Regions from separate parts of the Homo sapiens genome. Here region 1 is linked to region 2. Evidence: promoter capture Hi-C in 16 types of primary human blood cells and fetal thymus (Javierre and others, 2016). All regions are on one chromosome and are shown on one strand. Each heading gives the region's core, a stretch centred on a gene start or on the middle of the fragment in contact. The rest is flanking DNA. Distances are from core to core; before and after follow the strand shown.

Evidence for each region. Contacts are between HindIII fragments. The CHiCAGO score rates a contact against its expected background, and 5 or more counts as called.
Region 1: a contact is called between a fragment that was not itself captured here and the fragment with the promoter of SOX18 in region 2, in 1 of 17 cell types (total CD8 T cells). The highest score is 5.1, in total CD8 T cells.

What each region holds. Positions count from the first base shown.
Region 1 is chr20:63,578,957-63,585,973 of GRCh38, forward strand. No RefSeq gene overlaps it. Among named protein-coding and RNA genes, the nearest start is that of HELZ2, 8.2 kb to the left of the region's middle. RefSeq lists enhancers at 2,174-2,353, 3,637-4,137, 4,138-4,638. The HindIII fragment of the contact is 4,364 bases long and covers 2,250-6,613 here.
Region 2 is chr20:64,047,513-64,053,601 of GRCh38, forward strand. It overlaps SOX18 (SRY-box transcription factor 18), which reads right to left and starts at 2,127. Exons shown (of 2, transcript NM_018419.3): 1 at 1,647-2,127; 2 at 70-1,450. The coding sequence starts at 2,004. The coding sequence ends at 654. RefSeq lists a silencer at 1,817-1,866, enhancers at 1,998-2,679, 5,428-6,089 and promoters at 2,004-3,112, 2,007-2,904, 2,007-2,267. The HindIII fragment of the contact is 12,409 bases long and covers 1-4,833 here.

The sequences.
Region 1 (7,017 bases), core at 3,182-5,681, 470 kb before region 2:
CAAAAGCTCACACCCCTAGTGGAGGAGGTGATAGGGTCTGCAGTGGGAGGGAGTGGAGCCGATTTCAGATCTCCTCCTCTTGGCCTTGTGGGAGCCGTGCAGCCGGGAGGCCTCCTTCGAGATGAGCCCCTGGGGAGAAAGTCAGGGGGACCACACCTTCTCCTTGCAGGGGTGCCAGAAGGATCTGATGGGGGTTTAGTCCCAGGATGGGTCTACGCCCCCCGGGGCCTCCCAGCTGCTCTGTCCTCTCTCCCTGCCTGGCCTCTGCACACACAGCCATGTGCGTGTGACATTGTGAAATATACATTAACATATTTGGTCTCGTCCCGTTTCCTGGCAAAAACCCCTAAAATCCCTGGAGTAGCCAAAGTGGCAAGTGCCTTTTTGTGCTGATATTGACCGAAGGCTGGCAGCCTGGAGGCAGCCTCAGGATGGGGCTGGTCCTCAGAAAGGCCTCAGCAGGAGTAGAGGGTGGTACTTGCAGCCTTGCCCCAACCTCCAGGCAGGGGAGGGGAGAGGCGGCTGAAGGCGGTCCTCACCAGTGGCCAGTGACGTAATCAATCATGCCTGGGTAATGAAGCCTCCATGAAGTCGCAAAAGGACAGGGCTCAGAGAGCCGTGGAGGTTCCTGGACGGGGTGCCCTTGTGGGGTGAAAGCTCTGCGCCCCTCCCCTTACGCATCTCTTCATCTGCGTCCTTTGTAACGTCCTTTATAATAAATGGGTAAACATGTTTCCCTGAGTTCTGTGAGCTGCTCTAGGAAATTAATCTGACCCAAATATGGGGGTTAGGAACCTCAATTTATAGCCAATTGGTCTGAAGCACCCGGGGCTTGAGATTGGCATGGGGAGTGGGCAGCAGCCTTGTGTGGACATCTCCAGGTAGATGAGGATGTCTAAGGACAGATGGCGTCTCCAGCTAGATGGTGTCTCCAGGTAGACAACAACGTCTATGAATTGACGGTGTCTCCAGGTTAACAACAATGTCTCCAGGTTAACAACAATGTCTCCAGGTAGACAACAATGTCTATGAATTGATGGTGTCTCCAGGTTGACAACAATGTCTATGAATTGATGGTGTCTCCAGGTTGACAACAGTGTCTCCAGGTAGACAACAATGTCTCCAGGTTAACAACAATGTCTATGAAAAGACGGTGTCTCCAGGTAGACAACAATGTCTATGAATTGATGGTGTCTCCAGGTTGACAACAATGTTTCCAGGTTAACAACAATGTCTATGAATAGACGGTGTCTCCAGGTTGACAACAATGCCTATGAATAGATGGTGTCTCCAGGTTAACAATAATGTCTCCAGGTAGACAACAACGTCTATGAATTGATGGTGTCTCCAGGTTGACAACAATGTCTCCAGGTTAACAACAATGTCTATAAATTGATGGTGTCTCCAGGTTGACAACAATGTCTATGAATTGATGGTGTCTCCAGGTTAACAATAATGTCTCCAGGTTGACAACAATGTCTATGAATTGATGGTGTCTCCAGGTTGACAACAATGTCTCCAGGTAGATGATGGTGTCTATGGGTGGACAATGTCTCCAGGTTGATCTGGAATCCCTCCCACTGCAGACCCTATCACCTCCTCCACTCAAGGTGTGAGCTTTTGGCTGGTGGGAGGGCGCCCGGGAGGGTCTCTGGAAAGATGGGAACTGGGTGTTAAAGACCTGCTTAAGTGAGTTATACCCAGAGGCCGTCAGTTCCTGCCCGAGAGCACATGGCCCACAGTCACAGGTAAACTGAGGCCTGGCCCTAAGCCCTGGGGACCTCCACCTGCACTGTGATGCTGGGGAGGGTGTGTGGGTTTTCCCGCAGGGTTCGGGTGATAGCGGACGGCACAGGGCAGCAGACAATGGCTCCAAGTAGACGTCTCTAGGTAGATGGTGTCTTCAGGTAGATGGTATCGGAATTAAACTGGAGCACGCCCAGCCGGCGTCGGCTGCAAAACTGACTAATCTGTTGTTGGAACAGAACCCCCACCTGGTGTCAGCAGTGAGCTGTGCTGTGAGAGTGCAGGAGAAACAGCCTAGTTTTCTGACATCATTAGAGGTGATGAGCCACCTTCTCAGCCCCTGCTCACCTCTCCCCCACACTGAAGCCTGCTGGAGCCCTCAGGCCAGGCCCTGAGCAGGAGGCATGGGGTAGGTGTTGCAGGATCTAAAAGGCCTCCCAGGGGCAACAGAGAGCCTGGCCAGGGGCTGTGCCTTTCTCTGCTTGCCCCCACAGCACCCCCAAAGCTTGAGGCTTGATCAGATATCCCTGAGGTCTCCTGGCAGGGACCTTCCTAGTCCTCACTGGCCCCCAGTGTCCCTCTGCCATGTGGCCGCCTCTCCGGGATGACAGGGGGAGGGGCCACACTCCTGCTGGGGCTGGAGATGTTGGGGTCTGGAGTGGGTGTGGGCCTGCCCTGGGGCTGCTCTGGGCATCTGGTTGACACAGAGCCAGGTGCCTGTGCGCCCCGTGGGGCAGCTGTGCCCAGCCTGGCTGCCCTGGAGGAGGGAGCCAAAACCTGGGCCTTTCCACCCAGCCTTCCGGTCTCCCCTCTTCTCCCTGGACATACAGGAATGTGGCTTGCTCCTGACGCCCAGAAGTTCAAGTCCAGAACGTTACTGCAGATGTCGGGAGAGACAAGACAGGACAGAAGGGAGCCTGGGTCAGACCCAGGTCTGCGGTCTGTTGGTCCCCGAAGGGCCTGAGGCGGGGAAAGGACAGTCTTCAACAAGTGGCAGCTGGAACACGGAGTAAAGTTTCGGGAAAAACGAAGCTCAGCCCCACCTCGCATTGCACACAAAATTTAATTCAAGATGGAACATCTAAGCATCAAAGCTAAACTGTAACGCTTCTAGAAGAAAACAGGAGAAATCTTCACAACCTTGGGATAGGCATATATTTTTTTCTTTTCTTTTCTTTTTTTTTTTTTTGAGACAGTCTTGCTCTGTCGCCCAGGCTGGAGTGCAGTGGCGTGATTTTGGCTCACTGCAAGCTCTGCCTCCCGGGTTGATGCCATTCTCCTGCCTCAGCCTCCCGAGTAGCTGGGACTACAGGCGCCCACCACCACGCCCAGCTGATTTTTTGTATTTTTAGTAGAGACGGGGTTTCACCATGTTAGCCAGGATGGTCTTGGTCTCCTGACCCTGACCTCGTGATCCACCCGCCTAGGCCTCCCAAAGTGCTGGGACTACAGGCGTGAGCTACCGCACCCAGCCGGCATATATTTCTTTAAAAAGACATAAAAGGTAGAAATATAAGAGAAAAAAATTGATAAACAAGGTTATATAAGTAAAAAATGTCTGTACCAGTGAGAAAAATGAAAAGTCAAGCTATTAGTTGAGACAAAAATATTCAAAATACACATATCTGATGAACTATATGCAAACTGAAAATGTTTTTATCTTTGTTATTATTATTATGCTTTGAGACGGTCTTGCTCTATTGCCCAGGCTGGAGCGCAGAGGTGTGATCACAGCTCACTGCAGCCTTGAACTCCGGGCTCAGACAATCCTCCGACCTCAGCGTCCCAAGTAGCTGGGACTCCAGGCATGCACCAACACCCTCAGCTAATTTTAAAATTTTTTGTAGAGATGGGGTCTCACTATGTTGCCCAGGCTGATCTTGAACTCCTGGCCTCAAGTGATCCTCCTGCCTCGGCCTCCCAAAGTGTTGGGACTACAGGGGTGAGCCACCACTCCTAGAAGGCAGATTTTTTTTAATCTCAAAACTCAAAAGTCCAGTTTTTAAAAACAAACAAAATATTTGAACAGACACTCCACACAAGAACATATACAAATGACCAAAAGCACGTGAGAAGGTGCTTACCATCCAGTCACTGGGACACGCAAATGGGACCCAGCGAGAAACCACCTCACACGGGCAGACCGACTGCGTCCAGAGTGAGGACGGCTCGTGCCGCGGAGGGTGCGGAGCAGCCACCGCTCCCGTTGGTGCTGGTGGGGATACAAGACGGCACAGCCACCTTGGAAAACAGCTCGGTCATTTCCGATACAGTTAAATGAACATCTGTCTCAGGATCCAGCAGTTCGACTCCTGCAAATCTACCCAAGAGAAATGAAAAAAGGATCTTCATTCTTCACAACGCCTGGGCCAGGGAGCCCCTCCTGCTGGGGCCAGCGTGCTGACGCCCACACAGAGACACCCGCCGGTTCACAGCAGCCCCATTCCCAGCAGCCCCAGACTGAAAACAGCTCCAATGCGTATCACCAGGCGGCTGAATAAACAAACCGTGGAACGTCTGTACGACACAACACTACTCAGACAAAACCAAAACCGAACACGTCCGACCCACACAGAAGCATGGAGGAATCTCAGAAACAGTTCAGTGAAAGAGGCCAAACACAGACGAGTATTAAATGTGCGGTTCCGTTTCTATGAAGCTCAGGAACAGACGAATTCTAAAAACCAGGTCAGTGACTGTGAGGACAGGCCCGACTAGAGAAGGGAACAAGGGGAGTGTCCTCTGCCTGGTGCAGGCAGCAGGTACATGTGTCTGTATTGCTTAAAACTCATCCAAGGCTGGGCGCAGTGGCCTGTCATCCCAGCACTTTGAGAGGCTGAGGTGGGCGGATCACTTGAGGGCAGGAGTTCAAGACCAGCCTGGCCAACATGGTGAAACCCCATCTCTACTAAAAATACAAAAATTAGCCAGACATGGTGGTGCGTGCCTGTAGTCCCAGCTACTCTACTCGGGAGGTTGAGGCAGGAGAATTGCTTGAACCCAGGAGGCAGAGGTTGCAGTGAGCTGAGATCGCGCCACTGCACTCCAGCCTGGATGACAGAGCAAGACTCCGTCTCAAAAATAAATAAATAAAATAGGCCGGGCACGGTGGCTCATGCCTGTAATCCCAGCACTTTGGGAGGCCAAGGCAGGCAGATTGCCTGAGCTCAGGAGTTCAAGGCCAGCCTGGGCAACATGGCAAAACCCCATCTCTACTAAAAATACAAAAACTTAGCCAGGCATGGTGGCTCAAGCCTTTAATCCCAGCTACTCGGGGGACTGAGGAAGGAGAATCGCTTGAACCTGGGAAACAAGAGGTTGCACTGAGCAGAGGTCGCACCACTGTACTCCAGCCTGGGTGACAAGAGCAAGACTGTCTCAAAAACAGAAACAAACATGTCTAATAAGGGATCATTATCCAAAATATGAAAAGAACTCTTAAAACTCAACAATAATGAACAACCCGATTTTTTAAACAGACAAAAGATCTGAAGAGTCACCTCACCAGAGACAGAGAGAAGGCAAAGCAGCAGCTTGTGAAAGGGTGCTTCCCATCACACATCATTAGGAAATCTGCAAACCCAAACAGTGAGTTACCATCATACACCTGTGAGAATGTGCCAGGGCCAGGCGCAGTGGCTCACGCCTGTAATCCCAATGCTTTGGGAGGCCGAGGCTGGAGGATTGCGTTGAGTCCAGGAGTTCGAGACCAGCCTGGGCAACAGAGTGAGACCCTGTCTCCACGAATTTTTTTTTTTTTTTTAGAAGGAGTCTCGCTCTGTCGCCCAGGCTGGAGTGCGGTGGCGTAATCTCGGCTCACTGCAATCTCTGCCTCCCCGGTTTCACACCATTCTCCTGCCTCAGCCTCCTGAGCAGCTGGGACCACAGGCGCCTGCAACCACGCCTGGCTAATTTTTTGTATTTTTAGTAGAGATGGGGTTTCACCGTGTTAGCCAGGATGGTCTCGATCTGACCTCGTGATCCGCCCGCCTCAGCCTCCTAAAGTGCTGGGATTACAGGCGTGAGCCACCACAACCGGCCTCCATGAACACTTTTTAAAAAAATTAGCCGGGCGAGGCGTGGTGGCTCACATCTGTAATCCCAGCACTTTGGGAGGCCGAGGCAGGTGGACCACCTGTGGTCAGAAGTTCAAGACCAGCCTGGCCACATGGCGAAATCCAGTCTCTACTAAAAATACAAAAATTAGCCATGCGTGGTGGCATGCGACCGTAATCCCAGCTACTTGGGAGGATGAGGCAGGAGAATCACTTGAACCCGGGGACTGGAAGTTGCAGTGAGCGGAGATGGTGCCACTGCACTCTAGCCTGGGCGGCAGAGTGAGACTCAATCTTGAAAAAAATAAAAATAAAAATAAAGAATGTCCCAAACCCAAAACGCTGACAACGCCAAATGCTGGTGAGGACGTGGAACAGGAACCTCAGTCATTGCAGGTGAGGACGTGGAGCAGGAACCTCAGTCATTGCAGGTGAGGACGTGGAGCAGGAACCTCAGTCATTGCAGGTGAGGACGTGGAGCAGGAACCTCAGTCATTGCAGGTGAGGACGTGGAGCAGGAACCTCAGTCATTGCAGGTGAGGACGTAGAGGAACAGGAACCTCAGTCATTGCAGGTGAGGACGTAGAGGAACAGGAACCTCAGTCATTGCAGGTGAGGACGTGGAGCAACAGGAATCTCAGTCATTGCAGGTGAGGACGTGGAGCAACAGGAATCTCAGTCATTGCGGGTGGGAATGCGAGATGGTGCTGCCACTGGCGGAAGACACTTCAGTAGTTTCTTACAAAATGAAATACATTCTTACCACACAATCTAGCAGTTTCACCCCTTGGTATTTACCCAGATGAGTTGAAAGCTTAGGTCCACACAAAAACTTGCACGAGGGTTTTTAACAGCAGCTTTACTCATAATTGCCAAACCTTGGAAGAAACCAAGATGTCCCTCAGTCGCTGAATGGTATACTGTGGCCCATCCAAACAGTGGCATGTCACAAAGCACTCCACCCTCTGTGGGGACTCTGCCTTCTGGAGTGCCCTGGGCTGGACAGGCCACAGCCCACTCCCCACTCCTGTGTCCTCAGCTGAGGAGTGGCCAGTGCTGCACCGGCTCCTGGGGACACTCAGTGGGTACAAGACATGACCCCTTGTAGGTTTGTATCTTGTGGCCTCTGAAACCCCATGAAGTATCAGGAGGAGGAGATATCATGGTGGGATACTGAGGGGTGCAGCCCCCTCCAGGGGCAGAGGGAATGATGGGG
Region 2 (6,089 bases), core at 877-3,376:
AGGGAAGGGGCGTCCAGGGCTATTTGGGGAACTGCTTTTCCCTCCCTGCAAACACCACAGATGTCAGTGTGCAGAGGAAAGGCCCGAGGATTTATTGTGGCCTCTCCGTCCGGGGACCCAGCTCCAGGCTCCTCCTTTATAGAAAGCAAACATCTGTATTCCTCACATTGCAAAAGTCTTTGCCACAGTGACGCTTCTGATCACTGAAACTTCTTGGAAGAAAAGTTTAAGAGTTTAATTAAAAATTAAATATATTGTATTAGGTATATTTTTTAAAAGGGCAAAGTAAAAAATATTAATACAATCTGGTTGTAGAAAATACACTGCAAGAAAAGGAGCAGGTGCTTCAAAAATGTAACCCTGGCAACTCTGCCAACAGGTCCTGGGCTCGGGCTTCCTGGAAAAGCCCCGGGACACGTGGGAACTCCAGGCACCCTCGCAGGGGCCCCCCGAGGGCAGGTGGCCCAGAAGCCCAGGAAGGGTGGCCTGGGAGGTGGAACGGGCGCAAGGCCGAGCATCACTGGCTCCTAGGGGGCTGTGACATGGAACCAAACATACACGCGTATGAGAGAGCAGAGCGGCAGCGACGCGGTCGGATCGGTCGCGGGGGCTGCGGGAGGAAGCGCTGCAGGGACCCGGGCGGCGCCGGCGGCCTAGCCGGAGATGCACGCGCTGTAATAGACCGCGCTGCTGGCGTCCGACAGCGCGGAGATCAGGCTGCTCTCCTCTGGGCAGGACATGGCGCGCGGGCCCAGTTTGGCCAGTGCCACGTGGTACGGGAGCCCGGGGGCGTCGGGCCGAGTCCGGCTGCAGTTGAGGTACTGGTCGAACTCGGTGAGGTCCACGTCGGCCCACAGATCGGCGGCGGGCCCCAGCGGCTCGGCGCTCTCCAGCGGCGGGGCCTCGGGCGGCGGCGACAGCGGGCCGGGGTACGGGCCGGGCGTGCCCAGGGTGCCGTAGTACAGGCCAGCGAGCGGCGCCGCGGGGGGCGCGGTCCTGAGCGCCTCCGCCAGGGGAGCCCCGTAGCAACCGCCGGGGTCCCGCGACAACTCGGTGGGCGCGTAGGGCGCGCGGAAGGGCCGCAGCGCGCAGTCCTCGGGCGCCGCGGGCGGTGGGAAGAAGGCAGCCTCGCCGGGCTCCAGGCCGTCCAGAGGCGAGCGCTCGGGCGTGGGCAGCCCCAGGCCGTCGAACTCGGCGCCCAGCGGGGGCAGCTCGCGGAAGGCGCGAGCCGAGCCAGACGCCGCGGGGAAAGGCTCGGGCGGTGGCTGCGGGGGCGCTAATCCCGGGAGCAGGAGGCCGGGCTCCAGCCGCCGGGCCTTGCGCGCCTGCTTCTTGCGGCGCGGCCGGTACTTGTAGTTGGGGTGGTCGCGCAAGTGCTGCACGCGCAGCCGTTCGGCTTCCTCCACGAAGGGCCGCTTCTCCGCCGCGTTCAGCTCCTTCCACGCTTTGCCTGCGGGCCGTGGGCGCCAGTGAGTGGAACGCCGTCGGGCGGGTGGGCGCCGAGCCCTCCGTGCGCCCGGGACGCCCCGCGAGGGTTTGGCGCAGCCCCCGCACCCCGCGGCCCGGGACCCCTGCCCCCCCCGCCCCACCCCGGCCCGAGCCCCCCCCGCCCTCTCCCCCTTCTCTGCCGCCCTCCCGCCGCTCACCCAGCATCTTGCTGAGCACCGCGTTGTGCAGGTCCGGGTTCTGCTGAGCCAGCCGCTTGCGCTCGTCCTTTGCCCACACCATGAAGGCGTTCATGGGCCGCCGGATGCGCGACTCGTCTGCCGCCTGGCGTTCCCCGCGGCCGGCCGGGCTGAGGCCATAGCGCCCCGGCTCGGGGCTGCGCGGGGGACTGCGCTGCGGGCTGGGCGGCGAGGCGGGCGCGGCGGGCGCGGCGAGGGCGGCGGGGCCGGCGGCGAGGCCGCGCGTGTCAGCGGCGGCCCCGTGTCCCGGGGCCCATGCACAGTCGCGGCGGGCGGGCGGGTCGTCCTGTGCGCCGTAGCCGGGCGGCGATCTCTGCATTCCAGCTGGGCGCGGCCTGGGCGGAACGGAGCGCGGGAGCGCGGCGGGCGGGCGGCGGGCACTGGGGAGCCGGGCGCAAGGGCAGGCCAGGCCGGGAGGGCGGATGGCGGTGGGGACGGCGGTGGCCTCGGGCCGGGCGGGCGCCCAGATATAGCGGCTCAGGGCCAATCGGCGGCGGGGCGGGCGGGCGGGGGCGGGTCGGGGCCGCCTCCTCCCCGGGGGCTCCCTTTCTTCTCAGGCCGGGCGGGATTCCGCTGAGGCCTCCCCCGCGCACAGCCCCCCCACCTCCCCCGCGACCTCTCAGAAGGAGAGACCCCCCGGGTGGGAAAGAAAGGGCTGCTGATGAGGGCCGGTGCTGCCAGACTTTCGGAGGCGAGCTGCCACCCACCCACGGAGTCGGACCCCCGGGCAGTAACTGGGGGAGGGCGGCAGTGTCCCGCTGGTTGCCGTTCCCCGCCCCCCGCTGGGAGGCTCCATGGGGAGGAGAGGGCCCTTTTTCACACCAAGTTCTGGGGAGGCTGCCTTCCCAACAGCCGGTAAGTCCTTCCTGGAGTGCAGCGCCTTCAGAAAAGGCCCCGTCTTTGGGGAGGCGCTCTGAGTCCCCAGGGGCGCCCATGCTGGAAACTCTACACCCATGTGTAACCGTCAGCACCAGGGACTTTGAGTGCCTTTATGGGACAAGATGGTCTTCTGTCCTCACTCCCAAACCAACTCTGGCACAAGGCAAAGCTGACACAGGGAGGGAGAGAGCAGAGGCCCTGGACGGAGCCCACAAAGAGAAGGGGGAGCAGGGACGCAGAGGCTGTGGCGTCCTCCCTGCCCCCCAAGGGCCCTTGGGGAAGGGGCTGGGACCCTCAGTGGCTTGCTGGCTCCCCTGCCCAGCCCAGGCCACCGCTGCAGCAAGAGGCAGGGCCTACCTGGGTCCTTCCCACTGGCCCCTCCCTGGACCCTCTGACCTGGGCGGGGGCGGGTTCCGGAGGAGCGTCCAGCTTCCTGAATTTTCACTGTCCCCTTCCTACTCCATCAGGAGGGGATCTGGGCTCCAGAGCTGAGGGTCTCCCTCTGGAGGTCCTCCCCTCCCACTGCCACGCATGGTTCTACTGGAGAAGGGTTGGGTGTCCCCAGCAGCCCTCCAGGCAGGGTCAGAATCTCGCCACCTCGCGGCACATCTCCTCATAGCCTGGAGGCTCCCCAGCTCCCCCCGCCACACTATGCCGGGAGCCCCATGGGTAGAGGCCACAGGTCTTGTGACCCTGAGCCTGTGTGGCCAGAAGCTCTTGGTTCTCTGTCCCTGCCAGCCTCGCTAGGCCACATCCAGCCTGTGTTATGAATGGGGTGGGCCCCACGTGGGCCTTGCAGTGCCCCTTAGAGGCTGTTCCTGAACTGTCCCCAGGGGCACTCCTGCCCTGAGGCCAGCACCCCCACAGGGGCACTCCCACCGAGGGCTGTCGCGGTCGGTGTCCAGCCCTCCCCAAAGCCCCACATCACAGTCTGTCTCGACGCCCATCGTCCCAGCATACGGGGCTGGGTCTCCCAGTCTGGTCTCCAGATCTCCCGTCCCTCCAGTTTGCCCCACGGGCCTAGCACCTCGTTCACAGACACTGAGCCAGTGCTGGCTAATGGGGGGCCCGTGGGGCACCAGGAGGTGCGGCCCCTGGCTTTTCTGGGGAGGCAGGCAGGGTTGTGGCCACAGGGATGGAGGGGCTCACAGGCCTCTGCCGGATGCTGCTAGTCCTCCTTTAATCTCAGTATGGGTGGCTGGACCCTTGGCCGAGTCTCAGTGTGGGTGGGCCTCCTGGGCAGCTGGCAGGAGGGTGCAGGGGGGGTGGGGAGCCGTGCGAAGACCCCAAAGGGCTACCACTTGGCGGAAGCTCTCTCTACTCACAACCTTAGGGTTGCAGTCAGGGGTCACCAGGGCCTGGCTCAGCCTGGGCAGTGGCTGGTCACTGCGGCCTGGGAAAGAGGTCCTCGGGGTCCTCTGCAGTAGCCCTCACACGTGGGGAAGGATTTGCAGTTCCCTGGGGGCCCTGCTTGGTCCTCTGCCACCCCCGAGAGCCCAGAGTCACTGGAGCTGCTCTAAACATAGTGGCAGGCAGTGTCCGGCATGACCTCATCGCCTCCACGTCCCCCACAACACCCACCAGCAGCCGCCTTGCCTGGCGCCAGCCAGTGACCCACCCTCTTGGCTGGGCTGTGGACTCAGGTGTCCGGCTGTCATGTCCTGTGAGTCGGGGCTGGGCGGGGAGCCTCCTGAGGTGCTCCTCTCCCTCTGCGTGGCAGGGAGGAGGCTGGCAGCCCTGGCCCAGTGTCCAGATGGGACAAAGTGGGGGTAGGGACCACAGCCAGGGTGGCGTGATCTGGAGCCGCAGGGCTGGGGGGACTTGCCAGGGCTGTAGAGGGGATGGTGTGGGTGTGGCCAGCTGTGCTGAGGGAGGGGCATCCGATGTGTGTCTGTGCATCTGTGTGTGGCCTGTGTCTGTCTGTCTGCCTGGGTGTGGGGTGAGGGGGACTCTAGTGCTGGAGGCTGCCCAGGGCCTTGAGAGCCAGGCAAGCTGGACGTTCCCAGGAAGAGATGAGGACCCATAATAGGTCCAGGACCAGGGGTCCTGCTCCGTGAAGTTTGGAGGGTCCCCAAGGCTTCTCTGGCCACTGAGCTTGGGCCCCAGCATTCTCCAAAAGAGGGCAGGCAGTTCATGAGTCTAGGGGCATTCCTCTGCCTCTGGAACCCCACCTCAGTCTGTCCTGGACTAGGTGGGCTATGGCCCACCCTTGGGAAGGAGCCTATCTGTAGCCCCCAAGCCCCAGTCAGAAAGGCAGAGTTTGGGGGCAAGCTTTCTCTACAAGGGTGGGGCTGGCCTGGGCACTGAGTGGACACTGTCCTCCTGCCTGCCACCTGCCCCTCTCCCTCAGCTTGGACAGGAACCCCGGCCTCTGAGTGAGGTCCGCAAAGGATGCTGGGTAGTCCCCCTCCGTGGCTCTGGGTGGGAGCTTGGCTTGGCGCGGCTCTGGGCCGGGATGGCAGGACCTCCCAGCCACTGCCTGGGCACAGACCTCCCAGGATCCCACCAGCCCAGCCCCTGCGGCTGCAAGAGCAGCGAGGCTGGGACCAATTACCGAGTCCCGCAGGGCCTGGACCCTCCTGCTCCTCAAGGGTGAAGGTGGGGGTTCCTGTTGGATGCAGTTTCAGGTGGAGGGGGCTCTCTGGCCTCCCGAACCTCGGCTCTCTCCAGTTCAGATCCTACCTTCTGCCCACAGCTGAACACCTCTTCCTACAGGGAGCCCCCGACCTCCCAGCCACTGTCCTCCAGAGGCCATAGCATCTTGGTCTCCTTCTGTCTGCTGCCTCGGTAGGCTTCCTTTGGGACCCGTGGAGGCATGTCTGACTCCTCAGGAGCTCTGTATTTAGTGGGCCTTGTCCTGGGGTGGCGGCTCCAGGCCTAGTGAGACATGGCAGAGGCCAGGGCAGGGAGAATGTGAAGCTGGGGCGAGGGTCTGTGACGAGGCCGCCTGACGCCTCAGCACCAGGTGGACACAGTTGTGTGCATGTCCCTCTTGGCCAATGACAGGTCCGGTTCAGGTGGCCCTTGCCCAGGGACAGAGGCTTCTCCTGGCTCCGTGCCTTCCAGCTCTCAGTCCTGGTGTGCACAGCGTCACCGGGCTTCCGATAGCTGCCGGCCTCAACTCTGGGAGAGGGCAGGTGGGGCGGCAGGAGGTGCCTGTGCTTTCCTAGGCATGAGCAGGCATGAGAGGTGCACATGCTCCTGCTCACCTGGGCGGCGCCTCTCAACTGTTAGGTGTGGGGTTAGGGTTCACCTGACGATTTGCCGCAGTCCAGCGGACCCGAGAGTTGCATGCAGAGCTGGGGTTGCGGTGCGAGTGGGGAAGGGTCTGAAGGTGTGGGTGCAGGGGGCTGTGCTGGGGCCTGCAGGCTGGGGTGTGCGGTGTGAGTGGGGTGCTTTTGTAGTCTAAGGGGTGATGTGCCAGTCGTCGTGTGGTGTCAGGTGTCAGTCGTCGTGTGGTGTCAGGGTCTCTTCTACTCGGTGCTAAGGGCCAGCAGGACCGAGAGGGGTAGGGGCTTCTCTGGG